Regions from separate parts of the Homo sapiens genome. Here regions 1 and 3 are each linked to region 2. Evidence: promoter capture Hi-C in 16 types of primary human blood cells and fetal thymus (Javierre and others, 2016). All regions are on one chromosome and are shown on one strand. Each heading gives the region's core, a stretch centred on a gene start or on the middle of the fragment in contact. The rest is flanking DNA. Distances are from core to core; before and after follow the strand shown.

Region 1 (3,485 bases), core at 620-3,119, 480 kb before region 2:
TAACATACTATTTCCTTGGCAATATGGCCAAGTATTAAGATCTGATAAACTTGGGTGGTAGACACAGGGGATGGTCATTATCTTTTTTTTATATAGTTTTCTGTATGTATAAAACATTAAAAATGAACCAAAGTAAAAAGCTGAATCTAGCACCTAGCAGTACAGAGGCTCCTGCTTGCGTTACAGAAGGCACCTGAAGGCTCTCAGCCCAAGTCTGGGAATGGCATAGTGGCTCAGGGATGGTAGTGAACCAGCCCTTCACAAACCACACACCGCAATAAACCAGCAGAGCAACAGCACTCACTCGGCGGAACTGTGCTCCCGGAATCCTTCTGCGCACTCTCTCTGCAGAAGTCCCTCCGTGCTGGGTCCAGGCGCTCCCACTCCTCCCAGGTTAGAGACACAGCCGTGTCCTCGAAAGTCACCATCCCCTGGAACAACACAAGAGCCCCATTCAGTACCTGCTGTCCCTGTACAGCACTAACACTCTTCTTGAGTCTTGTACCGACAAGGGAGTTTGGAGAGATCAGAGATAGAGGCTGACATTCTCTTGTAATCCTGAAAAGCCTTTCTGTGGACTATTTACACTAATTTTGGAGGTAGGTAGGAGCAAAATATTTCTTTAACTTATATCACTGTGATGTATGGGAATGGAAATATGATACAGATTAAAAGTAAACAAGGCCGGGCGCGGTGGCTCACGCCTGTAATCCCAGCATTTTGGGAGGCCGAGGCGGGCGGATCACCTGAGGTCAGGAGTTCGAGACCAGCCTGGCCAACACAGTGAAACCCCGTCTCTACTAAAAATACAAAAATTAGCCGGGCGTGGTGGCGGGCGCCTGTAATCCCAGCTACTCGGGAGACTGAGGCAGGAGAATCGCTTGAACCCGGGAGTCAGAGGTTGCAGCGAGCCGAGATCGCGCCATTGCACTCCAGCCTGGGCAACAAGAGTGAAACTCCATCTCAAACAACAGCAAGAACAACAAGAAAAAAAAAAAAAAGAAAAGAAAAAGAAAGAAAACCAGTAATCCGTGTTCGCTTTATGCTGAGGTCTATAACAAGTCATTTCCTGGATGGATCTGTCACTGTGGCCTACAGAAAGGAAGTCCATACACACCCCAATGTTCACACGAAATGTAATAAGGAAGTAAGTTCCGAAACGCAGAGCACCCCTAAACGCCTATTTTCCACACTCCCACCTCCAGAACAGGCCTTTCGCTTCTCACCTGGGATGAGGTTCCATCGAGCGCTCGCTGCAGAGCCCGCACCACGGCCACCGCCTCCTCCCCGCTCTCTGGGCAGTGCTCTCGCACCCAGGCTTGAAGCTCCTCGGGCAGGATGGTGAGGAACTGCTCCAGCACCAGCAGCTCCAGGATCTGCTCCTTGGAGAGCAGCTCGGGTCTCAGCCACCGACGACAGAGTTCTCGGAGCCGGCTCAGCGCCTCTTCCGGTCCAGCCACCTCCTGGTAACGCAGCTGCCTAAAGTGCAGTCGAGAAGTTTCGGGGTCCGGCGAAGCCGCGGGATAGTTGGGCTCCCAACTTCCGGGTGAGTCTTCCTCCACTTTCACGGGCAAAAGTCCGTCGCGTTGGGACGGCGCCGCGTCCTTGGACCTCGCAGCCATCACCCAGGGTCCCAACTCGGCGTCACTGCCGCGCCTCTGGGCGGTCAAGCTGGAATTCATCTTTCTCCGGCATGTGCTGCCCTTCCTGGAGTCTTCTTTTCAGGTGAAGAAAGAGCAAACCCAAGGAACTCATCAGCCGTCAACACCCTCCGGTCCCAAACACCGGGCCCCACCACACCAGGCCCCTCTCCACACTCTCCTTTCCTCAGCTTTGCGCCTACAACTCTCTCGGTCAAACAACCGAAAACATCCCGTGCCGGAAGCGCGTCATCGAGGCCTTGCGGCACCTTTCCCTGCATTTCCGGGGCCTCTCTAGGCGCCTGATGGGGTGAGGTGCATCTCGCTGGTTTATCGTCCTAGCCCCGCCCGACGCAGAGGGTCTTGACGGTTTCCCGCATCCCGAGGAAATACGGGCGTCCGAGCCGGTGGCCGAGCTCCGGCAAGGGCGGGAACCTTCAGGATTAAATAGACAGGGTCTGGCTCTGTCGCCCAGGCTGGACTGCAGTGGCGCGATTTCGGCTCACTGCAACTTCTGTCTCCCGGGTTCAAGCAATTCTCCAGCTTCAGCCTCCCAAGTATCTAGGACTACAGGTGCGCGCGACCACGCCCGGTTTATTAATTTTTCTGTGGGGATGGGGTTTCATTATATTGCCCAGGTTGGACAAAGTTGTTTTTTTTTCTTTTTTCAGGCGGACTCTCGCTCTGTCGCCAGGCTGTCTTAGCCTCCTGAGTAGCTTGGACTACAGGCGCGCGCCACCATGCCCGGCTACTTTCTGTATTTTAGTAGAGATGGGGTTTCACCATGTTGGTCAGGCTGGTCTGGAACTCCTGACCTCGTGATCCGCCTGCCCCGGCCTCCCAAAGTGCTGGATTACAGGCGTGAGCCGCTGCGCCCAGTTGGAAAAAGTTTTGTTTTTTTTTTAAAACTAAGTGCTTCCATGTACATCAGATGTTAACGACTTTGATCCTAACAAACAAACAAAAAAGATGAGGAAATTGAGGCTCAAAGATGTGTCCTGGCCTGGCTCAGTGGCGTATGCCTGTAATCCCAGCATTTTGGGAGGCTGAGGGGGGAAGATCGCTTGAAGCCAAGAATTGGAGACCCCAATGTCTACAAAAAATAAAAAATTAGCTGGGTGTGGTGGTGCACACCTGTAGTCCCAGTGAGAGGTGAAGCTAGTTGGACTTCCTGGGTCCAGTGGGGACTTGGACAACTTTTCTGTCTTACAAGAGGTTTGTAAAAATGCACCAATCAGCGCTCTGTAGCTAGCAAGAGGTTTGTAAAATGCACCAATCAGCGCTCTGTAAAATGGACCAATCAGCAGGATTCTAAAAGCAGCCAATCGCAGGGAGGATGGAAAAAAGGGCGTTCTGATACGACAGAAACGGACATGGGAGGGGACAAATAAGAGACTAAAAGCTCCCACCCCAGTCAGCGGAGGCAACCGGCTGGAGTGCTCTGCCATGCTGTGGAAGGTTTGTTCTTTCGCTCTTCACAATAAATCTTGCTGCTACTCACTCTTTGGGTCCGTGCCATCTTTAAGAGCTGTAACACAGTGAAGGTCGGAGGCTGCATTCTTGAAGTCAGCGAGAGGATGAACCCACTGGAAGGAACCAACTCAGGATACACCACTTACTTGGGAGGCTGAGGTGGGAGGATCCTTTGAGCCCAGGAGGTAAAGACTGCAGTGAGATATGATCGCACCAGTGCACTCCAGCCTGGGTGACAGAGCAAGACTCTGTCTCTAAAACAAAGTGTCTTGGTTGATGTCAAGCTGCTGGTGATTTGCAACTTGCATAAAATGAGACGATCGCTTGAGACCAGGAGTTCCAGGCCAGCCTGAGCAACATAGAGAGGATGTG
Region 2 (3,667 bases), core at 469-2,968:
CGCAGTTGCTGACACCTGTAATCCCGGCACTTTGGGAGACCAAGGCGGGCAGATCACGAGGTCAGGATATCAAGACTAGCCTGGCCAACATGATGAAACCCGTCTCTACTAAAAATACAAAAAAATTAGCCAGGTGTGGTGGCAGGTGCCTGTAGTCCTAGCTACTCAGGAGACTGAGGCAGGAAAATTGCTTGAACCTGGGAGGCGGAGGTTGCAGTGAGCCGAGATCATGCCACTGCACTCCTGCCTGGGTGACAGAGTGAGACTCTGTCTCAAAAATAAATAAATAAATAAATAATCAAATACTTTTAAAAACTAAAATAACCAAAAAAGTATAATTGGATTGTCTGTAACACAAACGATAAAAGCTTGAAGGGATGGATACCTCATTTTTGATGATGTGATTATTTCACATTGCATGCCTGAATCAAAACCTCTCATGTACCCCATAAATATATACACATACTATGCACCCACAGTTTTTTTTTTAATTTACAAAAAAATCAGTAGACCTTGAGTAAAGTGGATTACTCTCCATAGTGGTGGGCTTCATCCAATCAGTTGAAGGCCTTAAGAGAAAAAGCCTCAGATGTCCCCTAAAGAGGAAAGAATTCTGCCTACAGTCTGCCCTTGGAATCAAGACTAAGACATCAACTCTTCCCTGGGTCTCCAGCCTGCTGGCCGGCTCTGAAGATTTAGGACTTGTTACTCCTCCCAATAGTGTGAGTCAATTTCTTAAAATAAATCTCTACTCTCTCTCTCTTTTGTATACATATATGTAAATCTCTTCCTATGTGTGTGTGTATCCATGTGTATACAGTGTATGTATGTATGTGTACGTACATATATATGTATATGTGTACCACCTATTAGTTCTGTTTCTCTGGAGAACCCTGAGTAATTCAGATTTTGGCACAGAATCAGATTAACATTCCAAAGTGATTGTTATATAACAAACATATAACACCTTTTCTGACAATTTGTAAATGTCATGAATTTTAAACTCACACAACTGAGAAGCCATTCGCTTCCATGTCTTTATCCTGCACATTCTCATGCCACAAACAGCCTCCTTCCCTTATCCTAGGAGTGACTCTTGATCTCCCGGAGCTCCCACTCTCTTCTCTTCCAGCCACTCGCCTTCCAGACCCACTGCAGTGGTGTCTGAGTGTGGGATTTGGGCACGGGTTTCCTTCTAGCACCATCCCTCCAGCCAACCTGCCTTCCCACTTTCCCCTTGGGGCTGCTCTCTCTTTCCCTCAGCGTCAGGCAGGTGTACCCAGCCATCGGAAGGAGGGAAGGAACAGGAGCAGAAGCAGCTCCAGGCATATGGTTCCTACTCCGTCCTGACTGTCTACCCCAAGCAGGTCGCTTGGTCTTTGGAGTCTTTGTTTTCACTGTAAACTAGGGGTTTTAGATTCAGATTCCTGAAGGTCTTATTTCGGGCCAGCGCAGAGGCTCCCTGAATGCTCCTGGAAGTGTGTGAGCTGAGGGAGTTGACAGCCTTGGGCACCCATTCCTGCCGTATGCCAGGGTATCCCAGCTGCATCCAGCCTGTCTCCCAGCCACATGTCCTGTTCCTCACCTCCTTCCAGTCCTCTCCAGCACCCATCCCTTGCTTTCCCCACTCACCATCTTGGTTCTCCTGGGGGACAGCAGGACCCAGAAGCAGCAGCAGAGACAGCAGGACAGGCACCATTCTTACCATTGTGTCTGCTTGGAGGGTTCTGGGCAGGAGGCACAGATATTATCCTGGGTCCTGGGGCCCTGCCCAGGGGAGGTGAATCTACAGGCCAATGGGAGTGCCAGGACGGGCTCCTCCCCTAATAGAGAAAAAAAAATGATACACAAGCTAGGCTGGGCAGAGGTTATGAAGAATGAATCTACACACAGGATATGCAAATTCAGAGCTGAGTCCAGAGTTGATCTCTGGACTGAGGCTTTGTGTGTGCCTGGGGTGGAAGGATGCCAGTGGGTAGGAGGTGCGTGTGATGGGTGGCAAGCGCCTGGGATGTGTCACCCTTCCAGTCTATTGTGACAACCCCTGGGCCAGTAGGGGCATTTGTGTGTTTTTGGACCACACTGTATCCCTGCCTTCCAGAAAAACTCTCAACATGTCCAAGACATGGACCTGGGTAGACCCCAGCTGGGGTGGGACCCTCACTCTCCCACATCCGATCCTGCCAGAGGCTGTGTCTGGAGGACAGTCACATTCCCATCTCTCCCTCCTTCCTTTCTGTGCCTGTGGAATCCCAGCCTTCCATGATGGAAGCAGAAATAGCCGCATCCTCCTTTTGCAGCCTCCCTGGCAACAGAACGAGCCTCCCAAAATGCTGGGATTAAAGGCGTGAGCCACCACGCCCAGCCAAGATAATTTTTAATGCATACAACAAGACTCGTTTTACACAGACGAAGCCAGTTATTTGAAAACCAGGTCTTTCCAGGCACGCTCAGTGTTGATGGGCTATTTGCAGAGAGACCCTCCGAATACAAAGCAACATGCTATTCTAAAGTGACTGGGGCCCGGGTGCGGTGACTCATGCTTGTAATCCCAGCACTTTGGGAGGCTGAGGTGGTTGGATCACCTCAGGTTGAGGTCAGGTACTCGAGACCAGCCTGGGCAACATGATGAAACCTCGTCTCTACTGAAAAAATACAAGAATTAGCTGCGCGTGGTGGCACATGCCTATAATCCCAGCACTCAGGAAGCTGAGGCAGGGGTTTCACCATGTTGGCCAAGCTGGTTTTGAACTCCTGACCTCGTGATCTGCCCGCCTCGGTCTCCCAAAGTGCTGGGTTTACTAGTGTGAGCAACTGTGCCCAGCCTCTCTTTTGGTTAAAGAAACCTACAAAGGGACCTTTTATAGTGACTTCAATTTTATGGAATAATTGTAATGCTCCTAAGGCCGTTGTGCTCCAAAGTCTAGCCGCAGGTATTGTTATTGATTGGGCTCCAAAAGGGCATTATTGGCAAGATTGCTCCAGCAAAAATACCTCATGCTCAGAGTTTAATTATTTGTTAGATTATGTAGAGGATGGATGGCAGTCATACAGGCTGAGACAATGGGTGTCCCCTTACCTATTTAAATGGATGGATGCAGGCATTACTCCTCCTAGACCAAAAATGATTCATCCCTTTGTTACCCCAGAACATCCTCAACTATGAAAATTAGCTGCAGCTATGACAGGAATAAGGATATGGAACACTACCTATCAACTCCTTCACACTAATACCAAAACACCCACATTCAACATCACCCTCATATCTGAACGGGTGATACCCATCAGGAGCTATGTCAAACCCCCTTACATGCTGTTGGTTGGAAATATAATTATCATTCCCAATACACAAACTATAGAATGTGATAACTGTAAGCTGTTCACGTGCATTGATGCTACTTTTAATCCCACTACAAGTACTCTCTTGGTAAGGGCTAGGGAGGGGGTATGGATACCAGTTTCTTTACATCGTCCATGGGAGTCTTCCCCCTCTATTCACATAGTCAATGAAGTTCTTAAAGGTATCCGCAAAAGAACAAAGAGATTTATTTTTACTCTTATTGCCATCATTGCAGGACTAATTGCGGTTACTGCAACAGCAGCAACTGCTGGAGTTGCCATCCACAATTCTGTTCAAACCGTTCAATATGTTGAATTGAAGCATGGC
Region 3 (3,687 bases), core at 489-2,988, 500 kb after region 2:
GCCGACAGTGGGGGTTTCTCTGCCTTGGCTTTGCTGGGCACCACCAGCTGGCCCAGTCCCCCAGTGAAGGAGCGGGCCTGAGGTCCAGGAGAGGTGGGGGGTGGACGGAGCCAGGAGGTGGGGCCCTGAGACAGGCCTGACGGTGGGGTGGGGGCGCCCAGGCCGAGGCTGGCCAGCTCCAACCTGGAATCCAAAGATCTGCCCCCGGCGCCCCCTGAGGCCCCTCGAATTCCCTCCAGGAGTCCGCCGAAGCTGTGGGGCTCCAGGTCTCGCTCATAAACATCCACACACGTCCAGCGACCGCGGCGATAAGGCTCTCCCAGGCCGTGGGGCAGCTTCACCACCCGGAAACGGGAGGAAGGGGCCCCAGGTGGTGGGGAGCCATTCCGGGGGGTGCCCTTGCCCCCCGGATCGGGGCTGGGCTCCCCATTGGGCAGGCGGGGCGGGGGCCCGGTTGGGGGCTGTGGGGTAGGGGGATCCGAAGCCCCTGGGCTCCCAGGGCCCTCATAGTCCGTGGTGACGCTGGTGATTTGGAAACTACTCTTCTTCTTGCCCCCGCTCATGGTCCCTGGGGCTCAGGGCTGGGCCAAGGTTGGGGGTGGGTTGGGGCTCCTTGAAGGGGCTCAGGCACCCCTGGAACAAGGGGGCCACATGGCGGGGACATCCGAGCCCCTGGGGACGTCTGGGTCCGACATGGCAGGAGGGCCTGGCGGGAACCGGGGGTGCCTGCTGGGTGAGGGGAGAAGAGGAGAGGGGAGGTGGCGGGAGGGGGGAGCAGGGGCAGGTTTTTCCTGCTGCTGTTGCTGCTGAACTCCAGAGCTGAGTTTGCAAACTGGAAAAAGAGGGGGAGAGAGAGAGAGAGAGAGAGAGAGAGAGTGTGTGTGTGTGTGTGTGTGTGTGTGTGTGTGTGTGTGTGTGTGTGTGTGAAACCAGTGGGCAGGCCACCTCCGGGGCTTCCTCTCCGGGGAGCAGAGTGGGGGAAGGGGAAACCGTCAGAGACCCAGAGACAGGCAAGAGATGACAGAGACCAGGGCAGAGGGGACTGGATCCAAGAAGGCACTCAGAGTAGAAAGAGGCAGATGAGTCCCAGAGTTGGGCATTTCTCGCCTGGGATTCTGACTCAGGGGGCCCGTATTGTCCCAAGAGCTCGGACTCCAGGGCCTGGGAGAACCAGGCTGAAGCAGCTCCCCAGCCTGGCCCGGCCACTCAGAGAGACCTCTCCTGGGCCTCGAGCCCCCACCCTCACCCCAGCTCCCACATCTCTGGGGCAGGCCCTGCCCGGCTACCCCCCAGCGCCCCACCCAGCCCTGAACCCTACCTCTGGGGCCTCGGCCACTGATCTGAGCCTGAGGGTCCCGGCGCCTAAGAGGTCGGGCTGTCCGTTCCCTGGGGCCTCCTGGCCATGGGCAGTGGCGGGGCACGCAGGCGGCGATCAGAGGCTGTCCCGTCCTCTCCGGGGGCCGCGGCTCATCCTGCCAGGCATCTCCGAGGAAAGTTTGCTCTCCGGAAAAGAAGAAACCCGCGCCTCCTCCGAGGAGCCTAGGAGCGGCCTCTGAAGCCCCAAGGGTCTGGAGACTGATGTGGGAGGGGGCGGCCGAGCCCCCCTCTGCTCCCGGTGGCAGCCAGCGAGTGGGTGTCCCGAGTCTCCTCCCGCGTGACCCTGCTGGGTCCGTGTCTCCGCTCCTCGGCTCCCCTGGGTCTCTGCCTCTCCGTCTTTCTCTTTCTGGGCTGTTGACAACCCCCACACCAGGAAGTCCTGCCTCCTCGGGCCTGCTGACTGCTCCTCTCCTCCTCCTCCTCCTCCTTCCCCTCTTCCTCCCCTTCCTCCTCCCTCCCTCCCTCCTGGGGCTTCCCGCCAGCTGGCCCGGGGCCAGGCCTGCCACAGCCGCTGCTGTTGCAGTTGCTGCAGCCACTGCTTAGGCTGCTGCTCCTGGGGGCCCCAAACAGACTCCCTTAACCCCACACCTGCCGGGCCCTAGCCCCACTCTTGCAGGGAGGGGCTGCAGGGGGCGGGGCTCGGGGAGAAAGGGGAGGAGCTTGCAGGGAGGCGAGGGATTCCCTTACTTGTAGTCAATTGCTGCCATTGGCCTAGAGACACACAGAAGAGACGGAAGGCACAGGCCGGGAGGTGTGCTGCATGCCCACCCAGAAGTTCCCAGTCCCTGCTGTGGGGCAGCTGTGGCTGTTACTGTCATTCTCCTTTGGTTTTCACAGCAACTGCATTATTCCCCCCATTCCTTATTTTTAAAAGTGGATTATTGCCGGATCCCGGTGGTGGCTCATGCCTGTAATCTCCGCACTTTGGGAGGTCGAGGAAGGAGGATCGCTTGAGACCAGTTTGGACAATATAATAGCAAGACCCCATCTCTACAAAAAATAAAAAAAAATAGCTGGGCATGGTGATGTGCACCTATAATTCCAGCTACTCAAAGGTGGGAGGATCGCTTGAGCCCAGGAGTTCGTGACCAGCCTGGGCAATATAACGAGATCCCCATCTCTACAAAAAATTTAAAAAATTAGCACTTTGGGAGGCCGAGGCGGGCGGATCACGAGGTCAAGAGATTAAGACCATCCTGGCCAACATGGTGAAACCAAGTCTCTACTTAAAATACAAAAATTAGCCAGGTGTGGTGGCGGGCACCTGTAGTCCCAGCTACTCGGGAGGCTGAGGCAGGAGAATCACTTCAACCTGGGAGGCGGAGGTTGCAGTGAGTCGAGATCACGCCACTGCACTCCAGCCTGGTGACAGAGTGAGACTCCATCTTAAAAAAAAAAAAAAACTGAGTGTGGTGATGTATACCTGTAGTCCCAGCTACTCAGGAGGCTGTGAGGCAGGAGGATCTCTTGAGCCCAGGAGGTTGAGGATGCAGTGAGCCAAGATTGTGCCACTGCACTCCAGCCTGGGCAACAGAGTGAGACCATGTCTCAAAAAAAAAAAAAAAGTGGATTATTATGAAAATTTTCAAACATGCCATGCAGACATGGGGAGACCATGCAAACTCCACACAGATGGTGGTCCCAGCCCAAAATCAATTTTTAGAAAATCATCAATGTTATAATGAAATGACATTCAATGAAATGACATTGTGTGGGGGCCAGCTGTAGTTTGCTGGACTATTTGAAATCAGATCCTAGATGTTATACTATTCCCCTTTCCCCCAACCTGCCCCCGCCTTTTTTTTTAGAGACAGGGTCTCTCTCTCTCTCTGTTGCCCAGGATGGAGTGCAGTGGTGCGATCATAGCTCACCACAGCCTGGAACTCCTGGGCTCAAGCCATGCTCCTGCCTCAGCCTCCCAAGTAGCTGGGACCACAGACACACACTACTACGCCTGGCTAAATTTCTTTAAAAAAAAATTTTTTTTTTTGGTAGAGATGGGGATCTTGCAATGTTGCCCAGGGTGGTCTTGAACTCCCGGCCTCAAGTGATCCTCCTGCTTCTGCCTCCCTAGTAGCTGGGACCACAGGTGTATACCACCATACCTGGCTAATTTTTTAGTTTTTGTAGAGACAGGTTATTACTATGTTGCCCAGGCTGGTCTCGAATTCCTGGCCTCAAATGATACTTCCACCTGGGCCTCCCAAAGAGCTGACATTACAGGCGTGAGCCATGGTGCCTGGCCTCAGGGAAATTTCTAACCCCTCTTTTTTTGAGACGGAGTCTCGCTCTGTCGCCCAGGCTGGAGTG

What was found. Contacts are between HindIII fragments. The CHiCAGO score rates a contact against its expected background, and 5 or more counts as called.
Region 1: the fragment with the promoter of ZNF394 here is called in contact with the fragment with the promoter of AZGP1 in region 2 in 3 of 17 cell types (erythroblasts, fetal thymus and M1 macrophages); the score reaches 6.4 in erythroblasts.
Region 3: a contact is called between the fragment with the promoter of TSC22D4 here and the fragment with the promoter of AZGP1 in region 2, in 5 of 17 cell types (total B cells, neutrophils, non-activated CD4 T cells and 2 more). The highest score is 14.6, in total B cells.

What each region holds. Positions count from the first base shown.
Region 1 is chr7:99,498,412-99,501,896 of GRCh38, forward strand. It overlaps ZNF394 (zinc finger protein 394), which reads right to left and starts at 1,870. Exons shown (of 3, transcript NM_032164.4): 1 at 1,227-1,870; 2 at 305-431. The coding sequence starts at 1,682. RefSeq lists enhancers at 310-978, 1,201-1,480. The HindIII fragment of the contact is 23,896 bases long and covers 1-3,485 here.
Region 2 is chr7:99,974,313-99,977,979 of GRCh38, forward strand. AZGP1 (alpha-2-glycoprotein 1, zinc-binding) reads right to left here and starts at 1,719. Exons shown (of 4, transcript NM_001185.4): 1 at 1,633-1,719. The coding sequence starts at 1,708. The HindIII fragment of the contact is 13,516 bases long and covers 367-3,667 here.
Region 3 is chr7:100,477,476-100,481,162 of GRCh38, forward strand. TSC22D4 (TSC22 domain family member 4) reads right to left here and starts at 1,739. Exons shown (of 5, transcript NM_030935.5): 1 at 1,319-1,739; 2 at 1-832. The coding sequence starts at 563. TSC22D4-C7ORF61 (TSC22D4-C7orf61 readthrough) reads right to left here and starts at 1,739. Exons shown (of 6, transcript NM_001395846.1): 1 at 1,319-1,739; 2 at 1-832. The coding sequence starts at 563. RefSeq lists enhancers at 1,375-1,444, 2,145-2,254 and a silencer at 1,895-2,054. The HindIII fragment of the contact is 34,188 bases long and covers 1-3,687 here.